Linked DNA regions of Homo sapiens: regions 2 and 3 are each linked to region 1. The links are contacts of gene promoters, found by promoter capture Hi-C in blood cells and fetal thymus (Javierre and others, 2016). All regions are on one chromosome and are shown on one strand. Each heading gives the region's core, a stretch centred on a gene start or on the middle of the fragment in contact. The rest is flanking DNA. Distances are from core to core; before and after follow the strand shown. Region 1 holds the start of MYB (MYB proto-oncogene, transcription factor). Region 2 overlaps AHI1-DT (AHI1 divergent transcript). Region 3 overlaps AHI1 (Abelson helper integration site 1).

What was found. The method cuts DNA at HindIII sites, captures the fragments that hold promoters and counts their contacts. A CHiCAGO score of 5 or more calls a contact.
Region 2: a fragment that was not itself captured here is called in contact with the fragment with the promoter of MYB in region 1 in 1 of 17 cell types (fetal thymus); the score reaches 7.8 in fetal thymus.
Region 3: a fragment that was not itself captured here is called in contact with the fragment with the promoter of MYB in region 1 in 3 of 17 cell types (fetal thymus, erythroblasts and megakaryocytes); the score reaches 10.5 in fetal thymus.

What each region holds. Positions count from the first base shown.
Region 1 is chr6:135,179,382-135,183,155 of GRCh38, forward strand. MYB (MYB proto-oncogene, transcription factor) reads left to right here and starts at 1,927. Exons shown (of 16, transcript NM_001130173.2): 1 at 1,927-2,155. The coding sequence starts at 2,133. RefSeq lists silencers at 1,046-1,155, 1,596-1,645, 1,716-1,935, 1,996-2,045, 3,095-3,174 and 2 more. The HindIII fragment of the contact is 5,797 bases long and covers 1-3,774 here.
Region 2 is chr6:135,498,507-135,502,280 of GRCh38, forward strand. AHI1-DT (AHI1 divergent transcript) reads left to right here. Exons shown (of 6, transcript NR_152842.1): 2 at 1-11. Among named protein-coding and RNA genes, the nearest start is that of AHI1-DT, 2.6 kb to the left of the region's middle. The HindIII fragment of the contact is 6,529 bases long and covers 1-3,774 here.
Region 3 is chr6:135,442,135-135,445,908 of GRCh38, forward strand. It overlaps AHI1 (Abelson helper integration site 1), which reads right to left. Exons shown (of 29, transcript NM_001134831.2): 14 at 448-580. Among named protein-coding and RNA genes, the nearest start is that of AHI1, 54 kb to the right of the region's middle. The HindIII fragment of the contact is 1,349 bases long and covers 953-2,301 here.

The DNA.
Region 1 (3,774 bases), core at 677-3,176:
TGATACATAGGAAAATGATTTACAAAGAAAAAAAGGAAAACTGAACTTAGTATCTTTCTACTTTAAAGGGGTTCAAGAACTTAGGAGTAGTTACACACCTCCTAAAATCTTGAAAAAGAGGCTATGAACTCACTTCACAAAGGGTTCAGATACTCACATTGTGTCCAAGAGACTCAGCAATTGGGAATCTTGCCAGTTAGATTCATAAAGCAATCCGAAAGCCAGAATGCAATTTCTTTAGGGGTGGTTTCTAGATGTTTATTCTAGATATTTTTAAAAGATTTTGTTTATTTTTGATGTGAAGAAAGAAAATTATTATAGAATCTAGAAATAAATATTGGCTTTAAAAGTATTAATTTGCCTTGTCCTTTGTAATTGTGATCCGAAATATCTCACAATAATTTTGTTTCAGTGTTATTTTCTTCTCAGGAGGAAAGGAATGTTAAAACCTTACTAGCAACTAACACTTGATAAAGATTTAAACTATATAACAATTTTAAAGAAAGTCTAAAACACCAGATAGTCTTGAAACCTCGCATGCTTCACCGTTTAATAAAATTATGACTCATTTTAGTAAGAACATGCTTTTTTAGTAAGAAAAAATGCTTTCTGAGCTAAGTTTGAACTGCTGGGGCACATGGGACACCCACAAACCCAGTCAGCAGAAGTCTCAAACTCCTAAAAGATTAAAGGAAAAATACATTAGTGTGTACAGAGAATGAAAAAAAAATCCCCAATGGTTCTAATCTATAAACGGAAGTAAAACTAAAACTCCCCTAAAATCCCCCCAGTCATCAATCCTTATAAATTCAGCACTTATCTTCTTCCTTTACTTCTGGAGACCCTCATTAAACAACACGAAAGCCTTTGCTGACTTTTATCTCGTAAAATAGAGCCCTCAAATGACACTAAGCAGGGATACCGACCTCCAAAATCACAAACTGTTTTACTTCTAAAACCATGCATGCAAACGTGGGGTTTCCTGAGTTCTGCTAGGGGCGGGCTGTCTGGACCCCCGTGTATTTTTTTTTTTTTTTTTTTTTTTTTTTTTTTTTTGCAGGTGTGCAATCCAGGGTGCGCGCTCTGTGCAGGGAGGGGAGCAAAGGTGTGCGGTGGGCACCGCCTGGGCCGGGCGGGGCGGGGTGGGTGGGGCCCGGGTGTGTGCTGGGGTGAGAGTGAAGGACATGTGACAATACGACGGTGGCGGCTGCAGGATCCGGGAGGGGAGTGAAAGCTCCGCTGGGGCGCTCCATTAGTGAGCGGTGATGGTTGCCGCCCACTTGTATTGAAGCGTCCTTTGTCACTAACAAGTTAAATTAGAGATGTTATTTATTTAAGAAGAAGGAAAAAAAACCCTAGCCAAACAGCCTATGAATACATATGCTCACATCCCCTACTCCTCCAACTCCTAATTTCCCCGTCTCCAGAGGGCACAGTTGTAAACCTTGACGAAAATCCAATCTTCTGTGCGGGAATTTCCCCCCACCGCTTGCCGCCCCCGCGACAGTGAGTGGGAGCTGGAGGAGCTCTGGTCCCGCTGCCCGGGAGCACGCGGAGCCGGGCGACCGCGGTGCGGCAGCCAGGGAGGAGGGGAGGCGGCGGGACTGGGCGCGGGTCGGCGCCGCCGCGACCCGGGAGCGGGGTTTGCTCAGGAAAAGGCGCCGTCGCGGCCCCCGGCCACCCCTCCCTGGCCCCGGGCTCCCTGCCCGCGCGCCTCCCGGGCCTCGCGGCGCGCTAGGCGCACCGCGGCGGCGCGAGCGCCGAATGGGAGCGGCGACCCGGCCAGCCCGGCAGCCCCGCGGGCGGCAGCCAGGGCGACCGCGGAGGCGGCGGGCAGGGCGCGTGCGCACTGCAGGGGCGCCAGATTTGGCGGGAGGGGGAGTGTCCAAAGCTCTTTGTTTGATGGCATCTCTGTTTACAGAGTTTACACTTTAATATCAACCTGTTTCCTCCTCCTCCTTCTCCTCCTCCTCCGTGACCTCCTCCTCCTCTTTCTCCTGAGAAACTTCGCCCCAGCGGTGCGGAGCGCCGCTGCGCAGCCGGGGAGGGACGCAGGCAGGCGGCGGGCAGCGGGAGGCGGCAGCCCGGTGCGGTCCCCGCGGCTCTCGGCGGAGCCCCGCGCCCGCCGCGCCATGGCCCGAAGACCCCGGCACAGGTAACGGGGAGCCGGGCGGGCGGCCGAGGGCGGGGGCGCGCGGGGGCGCGCGGGGCGCCAGGCTCCCGGGAGCAGGTGGGAATTCGTTCCGGGATCATCTGAGGGGCTGTCAGACCCTCCGAGGACCTGGAGCCCCTGCCTCGGCAGCAGAAGCCGCTCCAGAGACTGATGAATGGAAGAGTCTTTGCGGGAAATGTATCCGGACGTTGGGAAGCACGCCCTGCGGCTCATTTTGCAAGTTGCATGGGGATACATTTTTCTTTAGGGGGAAAAAGAAAGCACGTTCCAGCCGAGGGCAGAGCGGTGCCCACCAGCCCCGGGGAGCCCACCAGGTGCCTGGCTTGATGCCGCGGGTGTCGGCGAGGGATCCGCAGCGTAATTGCTGGATGCATTGAGATATGTTTGGACTTGGAAGTGCAGAGCATATGGCAGATACAGGGAAAATGCTGGATTGTTTAGTAGCTGCAGGTAGTTCATTTAAATTTCATTCATTCTTTATGGAGGCGAGGACCAGTGTCAGCTGACAGGCGGCTGAAAAGCAGATTTTAGGGGGATAAAGGGGTCTCTACTTTTGCAAATTGTCTTAAGACCTGGTTTTGGAGGTTCGAATCATTTTTCTCTGAAAGGCTTTTACTTCCACTGCAAACATTGCACGCGCACCCACACGCGCCGCCGTCGCACATGTCACTGCACTTAGGGAGGCTCGCCGGGAAGATGGGTGCAGTCCCTTCACATTTTTGGCCGGACAGATGGGAAGAGGGAGAGGAGGAGGAGGAGGGAAATCCTCGTCCGAACTGTCAGTTGCTCGTTCCCCAGTCTCCACCGGCCTCTGGACTTTCCCAGCAGCACACGCCGGGGCTCCCTGCGAGCGGCGGGTGCCAGGGCTAGCTCGGCAGCCGTCGCAGTCGCCACTCGGCTCAAGGGGACAGAGGCCGGCAGCACCCAAGGCCGCTGCCGCGCAACCGGGACGCGATCCCCGCGGGCTCTGCCCCCAGGCGAAAGGTCCCTGCGCGGCGCGCACACGTGGATGCGGCTGAGGTCGCCGCGCCTTCTCGCACCCTCCTTCAGCCGCCTTAGGTCGCCCCGGCCGAGGCGCGGTGACCGGACAGACCCTCGCGAAGGAGTTCTAAGGCGAAGTCCATGGAGGCAAAGCAAATCCATTCGCCTTTCCTTAGATTGTTTGATTTTCTCCTACTGGTTTGTTGTTGAGCCTGCGGGCGCTGGTCCCCGCGCGGCGCTGGGAAGTTGCAAAGAGCGTGGGTGGAGACCCTGCAGCAGCACCCGCGGGCTGGGCTGGGCGGGGAGCAGCGCCGGGGCTTGGTTGGGCTCTGGGGACGAGAGGGCGACTTGGGGGAGCTCCGGGCTCCCTATGCCTACTCCGGAGCCTGGCCGCGCAGGACGGTGTGCTGCCCCTCGAGGGCTCCACTTTTCGCCTTTAGGACTTCACAGGACAGCTACCGGGGTCATCTGTTTTTTTTTTTTTTTTTTTTTTCGAGAGCTGAAACTGGCAGCAGGAGGAGGGAGTCGGGCAGGGGTGCTGGGAGGAGGCGCGGCAGCGGCTCCGCGCCCCGAGGTCTCGGCCGCCCCCGCGGGGCGGGGCCGCGCAGGTTCCCTGAGGC
Region 2 (3,774 bases), core at 537-3,036, 320 kb after region 1:
AGCCACCCGCTGTAAGCTGTTGCTTCATTTGTACAGTAAGAGTTTATGGAGGCCAGCTTTTCCATTCTTACTGACATTGCCACACCTTACAAACTATATGTCTTGTGCTTCCCTAAATCCTGTGAGGAAGCAACGAGAAAGATTACTAATCCAATGCGTACCGAACTGAGCTGTTCAACTTTCCGTTCTAAACATACTCTCCTAGATTTCTATCTTGCTGTAAGCCACCACAATCCTCCCAGTGTTTTAGTAAGAACAGTAGAGTATCCTAAATGCATCTTATGCCAAAGCATATCCATTCTCTCTTTTTAACTTCCTCAGATGGGCCCTTTACCAGTTCTCTGACTCCAGTTTGACTCTTAAATTCTCCACACTGCTATCAGAATGACCTGACTAAAAATGTAAATCGGATAATGGCACTCTCCTGCTGAAAATTTTTGAAAGGCAATCTGTAAGAGAAAATGATTACTTTGCCTAGGATACAAGATTCTCCATCTCCCTGACTAGTTTCATCTCTCGTTAGCTTCTTGTTCCAATTTTATGCAATATTGAATCATGTGTACCATGCAGTTTTATGCAACATTGAATTATGTGTACCATGAAAAACAATCCATAGCCTTTCACGCCCCGTCCTTACTCATATTGTCCTCTCTTCCTGAAAATTCCTCCTTTTACACTCCTGCATCACAGCCAAATGTTGTCCATCCTTTGAATCTTAAGCAGGTTGACTGACTCCTTCAAACACTCCTACTCCCTATTAGACTTCGGATACTCATTCTATATATTAGACTTTGGATGCTCATTCTATAGTTTCATAGTTTACTTTGTATTTTCTCTATCCCCAGCATCTACCACAGTGTCTATGAAATAGTTGGCATTTCATGAACATTTGTTGAATGAATAATGGATAACATATATTGAGCTCCTTCTAGGAGGTATGCATTGTAGGTGTTTTATGTACTTTTCATCTGTCCTCACAACTGCATTTAAGTACCTGCTTTTCCAAAGGGAAGTTATAACTCTGACTGCTCATTCTTAGTAGGGTGTTAGTTTCAGAATACAATCCCCAGACTAGCGGATGTGTAACCCTGTTATCATCTCTTGCTTCTCCATTTACAGTAGCATGCAGAGGTGCAGTGGGGTGGGGGAGGTCAGGGAATATTTCATAGCAGAAGTGACATTTAAGTAAAGACCAAAATAATGTGTAGAGTTGTCCAGGTTAGGAAGGGTTTCCAGGTAGAAGAAGGTGGCGTATAGTGTTCACTACAAGAAAGTTTGGTATAATACAAGAACTGGAAGAAAAAAAAAAAAAGTTCAAGTTGGCTAACTAAAAGGTAGAGAATGAGACTAGGGGCTTTTGGAGGAGACAAAACAAGAGAGTTAAACAAGCTATGAAGAGACCCAGACAGTATTGGTCAGTGGAATACCACTATAGAATTTTATGGAGTGAAATTTTCAAATTTTAATATCATAAAGATAACTCTGGCTGCAGGGTGGAGAACAGACAGGAAGGAAGCAAATCTAGATCTGGGAATACCATTTAAGATGCCGTTGCTGTAAGCCATGTAAGAGACAAAGGTGGCATGGTCAAGGCTAAGAAAAATCAGAATGGAGAGAAATGGACCAATTTGAGAAATTTTTAGGAGGTAAAAATGTCAGGACTTAGTGATTGATTGGATGGAAGAGTGAATGATAAGAAATAATAAAAAACGATGACCAGCTGTTTTGCCTTCCCCTTGGCAAGTAAAGAGGTGGCAAGCATGAAAGGGGAGTGAGGAAATAAATATGTTGGGTCTAATGGGAGCCAGGTTTCTCACTGACAGAGAAGGACGTTACAAATTGAGAGAGGAAGAATTCCACAGTGACCTTTGTGGTGATGTTGAATTGGAATTGAATATGTCAGTGTCAACTCATAGTTTTCAATATATACATAAACATATGTAAAAATAAATATAGAGGAAAGTATGTCTGTATGTGTGTGCGTATCTATCTATTATGCTCTTCCTAGCTCTATCTGCTGAAAGGGTTTCAGAGTAATGGTATACTAGAAGCAATGAGCACATGTGCCTAGATCTTGGTTTCTGAACAGTATTATTCACTAAAAGTAACTGGGTCCCTTGGAGAAATGGTTGATTTTAGAACAGGAGCCTGGAAAATTCTTGTTGCACCAGAAGTTAAGGAAGTTAATACAGAATGAAGAAACATATCAAAAGGTCACAGAAGCCAGCTTGAAGGAGCCACCACTGGCCACATCTGGGTCAATCTGAGCACCAATATAATGTTAATGGATTATAGTCCGCTAAATAAAATAGGAATATTTGAGCCCATACTAAAATGAATAAATGATTTTTTTGAAAAATCAGGATAAAGAAAAGCTCTGCCTTACATAAAAATGCCAACTAAATGTAATGAATGTAGACAGTGTTATATGTAGAAACATCATTATTTGGCAGTCATGATAGTAACAGTTGATTCAGACTAGAATCATCAGTGTATGCTAAAACTAGAGGGTGAGAGTATTAAGAGACATATAATATTTATATAGTCTCAAAGTATCTCTCCAGCAAATACTTATTAATTACACAGAGAAAAATTAGAAAACTTGACAGTGTAGAAATCTGGCACTGGTGAGCGAAGTTACCATCAGCAGTCATGAGACAAATCAGCATCGTGTATGTCCTGGTTAGAGGCACTTAGAATACACTTCTGTGACATTCCTGCCAAAAATGTGTAATCCGAATCAATCGTGAGGAAAAAATCAGACAACCCAAATGTCCCAAATTGAGGGACATTCTACAAAATAATAGACCTGTACTCTTCAAAGATCAAGGTCATGAAAGACAAAGGAACAACTAAAGAACGTTTTTAGATTGAAGGAGAATTAAGATACATGACAATTAAGTGGAATACATGATTCTGAATTGAATCCTTTTGCTATAAGGATATTATTGGGACAACTAACAATTTGAATGGGGTCTCTGGATTAGATGGTAGTATTTTAACAATATTAATTTCCTGATTTTGATGACTATAGTGACATAGATATTTTTGGTTTTAGAAAATACATATTGAAGTATTAAAGGTGATGAGGCTTCATATCTGCAACCTATTCAAATGGTTCAGGAAAAAAGTATACATAAATACTGTAAATAAATATAAACATAAATAATATACATAAAGAAAATGATAAAGCAAATGTTAACAGGGAATTTGGGCGAAAGCAGAAGTTCTTTATACTATTCTTGCAATTTTTCTGTAAGTTTATAATTATTTTAAAACTATAAAAGAAGTTTGAAAGGTGCCGAGGTTTCTGGCTCAGGTAACTGGGTGGAGAATGGCTAATCAGTTAACGACAAAAAATCAGGAAGAGCAAGCATGGAGGAAAAGATGTTTAGTTGCAATGGGATGTATGGAGTGGGATGTTCAGCAGGCAGTTGAGTATATACTAAACATATTAATGAGCCCCATTCAAACTGAATAAAGCAGATATGTTGCTTTAGCTCTCATTAGTCGAGAGTGCAAGACCAAGGGCACTCCGCTATCCTAGGAGAGGCAAACAATTAAGAGTGGTAGTATGGTAATAATTCTAAAAATTGGCTGAGTATCCATGAAAAAAATTGTGTGTATATATATATATATACACACACATATATGTATAAACATATATACACACATATATGTATAAATATATATCCACATATATGTATATATATACACACATATATGTATATATACACACATATATGTATAAATATATATACACATATATGTGTA
Region 3 (3,774 bases), core at 377-2,876, 260 kb after region 1:
CTCTATCATAATGAGAAGTTTTCATCTAGGTACTCTTGAGTCAATTATTGGTATTCCACTACACAGCAAATCTGGAGGCTTTTGTAACTCAAATCATCACTGCTATCAACTAGCCACATTGGACTAATGTTCCCCATGAGATTTATTCATCCTTGTTTCCAAATTTCTATATTTAAAATACAAAATGTTTACAAAAATCCTCCTGCATGTTTTAAAAATAAATTTACCATCTTTCATTTGATCAATCTCATTCTACTTACGAACAGTTACTGTATAGAAAAGTGTAAAATTATTACAAAAGAACTTTCTTTGTTTGAAGAAATCCGTTTTCTTTAATTTAGTAGTACAGGGGATTACTCAAGTTAAGATTTCCATGAATTTAAAAAAACTAAAGAATGTCCTCCACGTGGACTACAATCAGATTAAACAGGTAGGATTATTACTCACAAATAATTGGATATCCATCCCGGCTGGCACAAGCTGCTGCTAATATTCTTCCATTGTGGGAGAAATCAAGACAAAAACATCCTCGTTCTCCTGCATTTAGTGAGAAGAGGTGTTTGTTTGGGATACGGCAAGCCTAAAAAACATACGTTTAAAAAATATAAATTAGCAAACATTAAAACGCGAAGGCTAGTTTTTAATTTCAATTACTGTAGTTCTTTTAAGTCCTTTTATGATGCAGAGAAAGAGAAAAACAAGTACGCAGAATGGTGAAAAACCATAGTAAATTGCTTTGTAAAAAGAGAATCAGTGTCCATGAAATTTTTAAAGTGGGTTTGTTCTTCATGTTTAAGTAGTACTTAATTCACCTAAATATGAATAGAAAAATTTCAATATCTGATACTCTAAAGCCATCACTGCCACACTGCTTCTATATAGCTACTAAAAGAATGTATGTCACAGCCTTATTCTATGACAGCACTAGTAAGTCACTTTTGTTAAAGTCACAAGCTTTTTTTAAGACCACAAGTACCTATGGGGCCTAGCTTAAGCCAGAATGTATGAATGCTTATTCTCTCTTTGCCTATCTTAAAATAATCACCTTTTGTGGCTGCCTTCCAAAATGTATTTTCAAAGTAATCAATCGGCCCTTATTGGTCTCTCATTCATTATTACAATTTCTTCAAAATTTTAATGTTTTCACCCTCTTCTACCAGATGAAGCCCAAATTTTCTGGGTATTAATGTCTACTGTAGAAAATACCAGTTACGTTTATTTATCCTAATTCTATCTCTTGCAACCTTCAGTGAGCCTTAGTTCTTCTGTTTCTTATAATTCAAAAAGTTGAAGTAAACATATACTGGGCTCTTACTATATGTCATGAAAGTTGTACTTTATTACAAAGGTCTTTGAATATATTCATCACAGCCACCCTATGAGTAGCTATTACTAGCTAAGAGTAACCATTATTAGCTCTATATGGCTAAGAGGGATTATTCAAAGGGTCAAGCCTAGCTTAATGGACCTACTCAAAGACTGTTACTTCAAGGGCATGCTTTCTAGACAGGTACCAGGTTTTTCACAAATAGTACCAAGATCTAGCAGTTCCTCTGGAGACAGCATTATGACCAGCTACTAGGAATGTGAAAAATTCAAAAGAATTTGTTAAGTGTCAATCATGTACCAGACTCCATGCTCCCCATCCTTTCTCTGCATTCTCCAGACTCCATGCTACCCATCTTTTCTCTGCATCCTCCAACCACATAATTAAGAAAAGGGAGAGGAGGGTAACAAGGTAACAAAAACTGAAAGAAATGTCAGGAGGCTTTATAACCACTTGCTGCTGCTCCTAGAGTAGGAAGTGTAATTAAGGAAAACTCTGTGCCCAATCACCTAGGCTGAAAATGAAAACATTGAACCCACTATCATGTTCTTTGTATTCTCAGGGTTTGACTCTGTGCCCTATCCACAACAGACACTCAATGAAAGTCTGATAACAACAATAAAGGTCCTCAAAAGCCTTGACTGTTTCTCCTCCTTTACTACCTTGTCAGTCACTAAATCATGCTGGTTCCTACTTTCTGTCTCTCGTATTCATTAGACCCTCATCACCTCACACATCAATGACTGCCATCTAATTCTGATGTTACTACTTCAAGATCTCCCCATGCCACTGCCTGCATTAATTCATCCTCAAATACAATTGTTATTTTTCTCACTCACCCGAAAACCTTCCATTATTCCTCACATCCCTCACAATCAAGTATTAGGCTACCATTTGAGACACTCCACAATGTGGGCCTCATCCAGTACACTACTTTATCTCCTCTTTTACAAACTCTGGTTTCCAACCAGCTAAGCTTTTGAGTGCCTAATGAATACAACAGGTCCTTTCCCACTTATTTGCAACTTTGCCTTCATATGAAATACCCGCCCTTGTCCCTCCTTCACTCACCCCTACCTTGAGCATCCTAGTCTATCTCAAGCTCCACTGTTGAATGAGCCCTTCTTCCACCATTGTAGTTCAGTCTTCATATCTGCAATTCTCAAATGTTTTTAGTTTCGAGATGCTTTACATTCTTGGAACATTTTTTTGGAGGCTATTTGGAGTTTTCATAAAAATAAAATAAAAGTAACTTGCTAACTTTAAATGTCTAGCTGAATAAAATCTAGATTTTCGTAAGTGCCTCTGCTCTCTTGTGATATCACGTTATTTAGCCTCTAGAAAATGCTAGTACATACTTGTAAGAGAATGAATCTGAATGAGACTAGTAACACCTTAGAATCATTATGAAAAGAAGTTGACTTCAAGAACCCCCTGAAAGGGACTCAGAACTCCCAGAGGTCTCCAAACTACATTTTGAGAACTGCTGATCTGTACAATCATCTTTATACCTACATTTCCTCATTTCATCAAGACTTCTCTGAAGCATATCTGAAAATAAACAACAATGTAACTGCTTTCTTTTCCCACCTAACTTGGAAGTTCCCCAAGGGCATAATCTAAGTGTTATTCTCTCCATATCATGCTTAAAGTATTCTAACTCAAAGTGATTTTAAAATGTATCTGTAAAATCAGCCTCAAAAAGAAAGTCAAATGTGATATAAAATATAGAAAATGAAGATGAATAAGTAAGAATAGTAAGCTCTTATTTCTACATTAGATGTTTGAATAAATTAAGATTTTGGATAAATTTCATCTGGTAGCAGCTCATATGCATAAAATAAACCACTTCATTCTTTATAAAAACAAGTAAAACATTGCAAAATTGTATCAGCAATGCTTCTTGCCACTGCATAAAATGCTAATCTAGTAAGAACACTTTAGTAAAAGCTTAAATTCTGCTCAGCTTGTGGCAGAAGTATATACATGTACATATCTCTATCAAAGTGTGATTCAGGAAGAAGCCAGGTGCTGTGAAGAATTTCATGAATCCATAAACATTAAGAGATATACATCTTACAGACATCAAAAAATTTTTTTTTAAATTTTTAATTCTTTTTCTTTTTAAAGAGATGGGATCTCATTCTGTCATCCAGGCTTGAGTGCAGTGGCAGAATCATAGCTCACTGCAGCCTTGAATTCCTGGGTTCAATCAATCTTCCTTCCTCAGCCTCCCAAGTAGCTGGGACTACAGGTGCATGCCACCATGCCCACCTAATTAAAAAAATTTTTTTTAAAAGAATGGGTCTTGCTGGCCGGGCACGGTGGCTCACGCCTGTAATCCCAGTACTTTGGGAGGCTGAGGCAGGCGGATCACGAGGTCAGGAGATCGAGACCATCCTGGCAAACATGGTGAAACCCCATCTCTACTAAAAATACAAAAAATT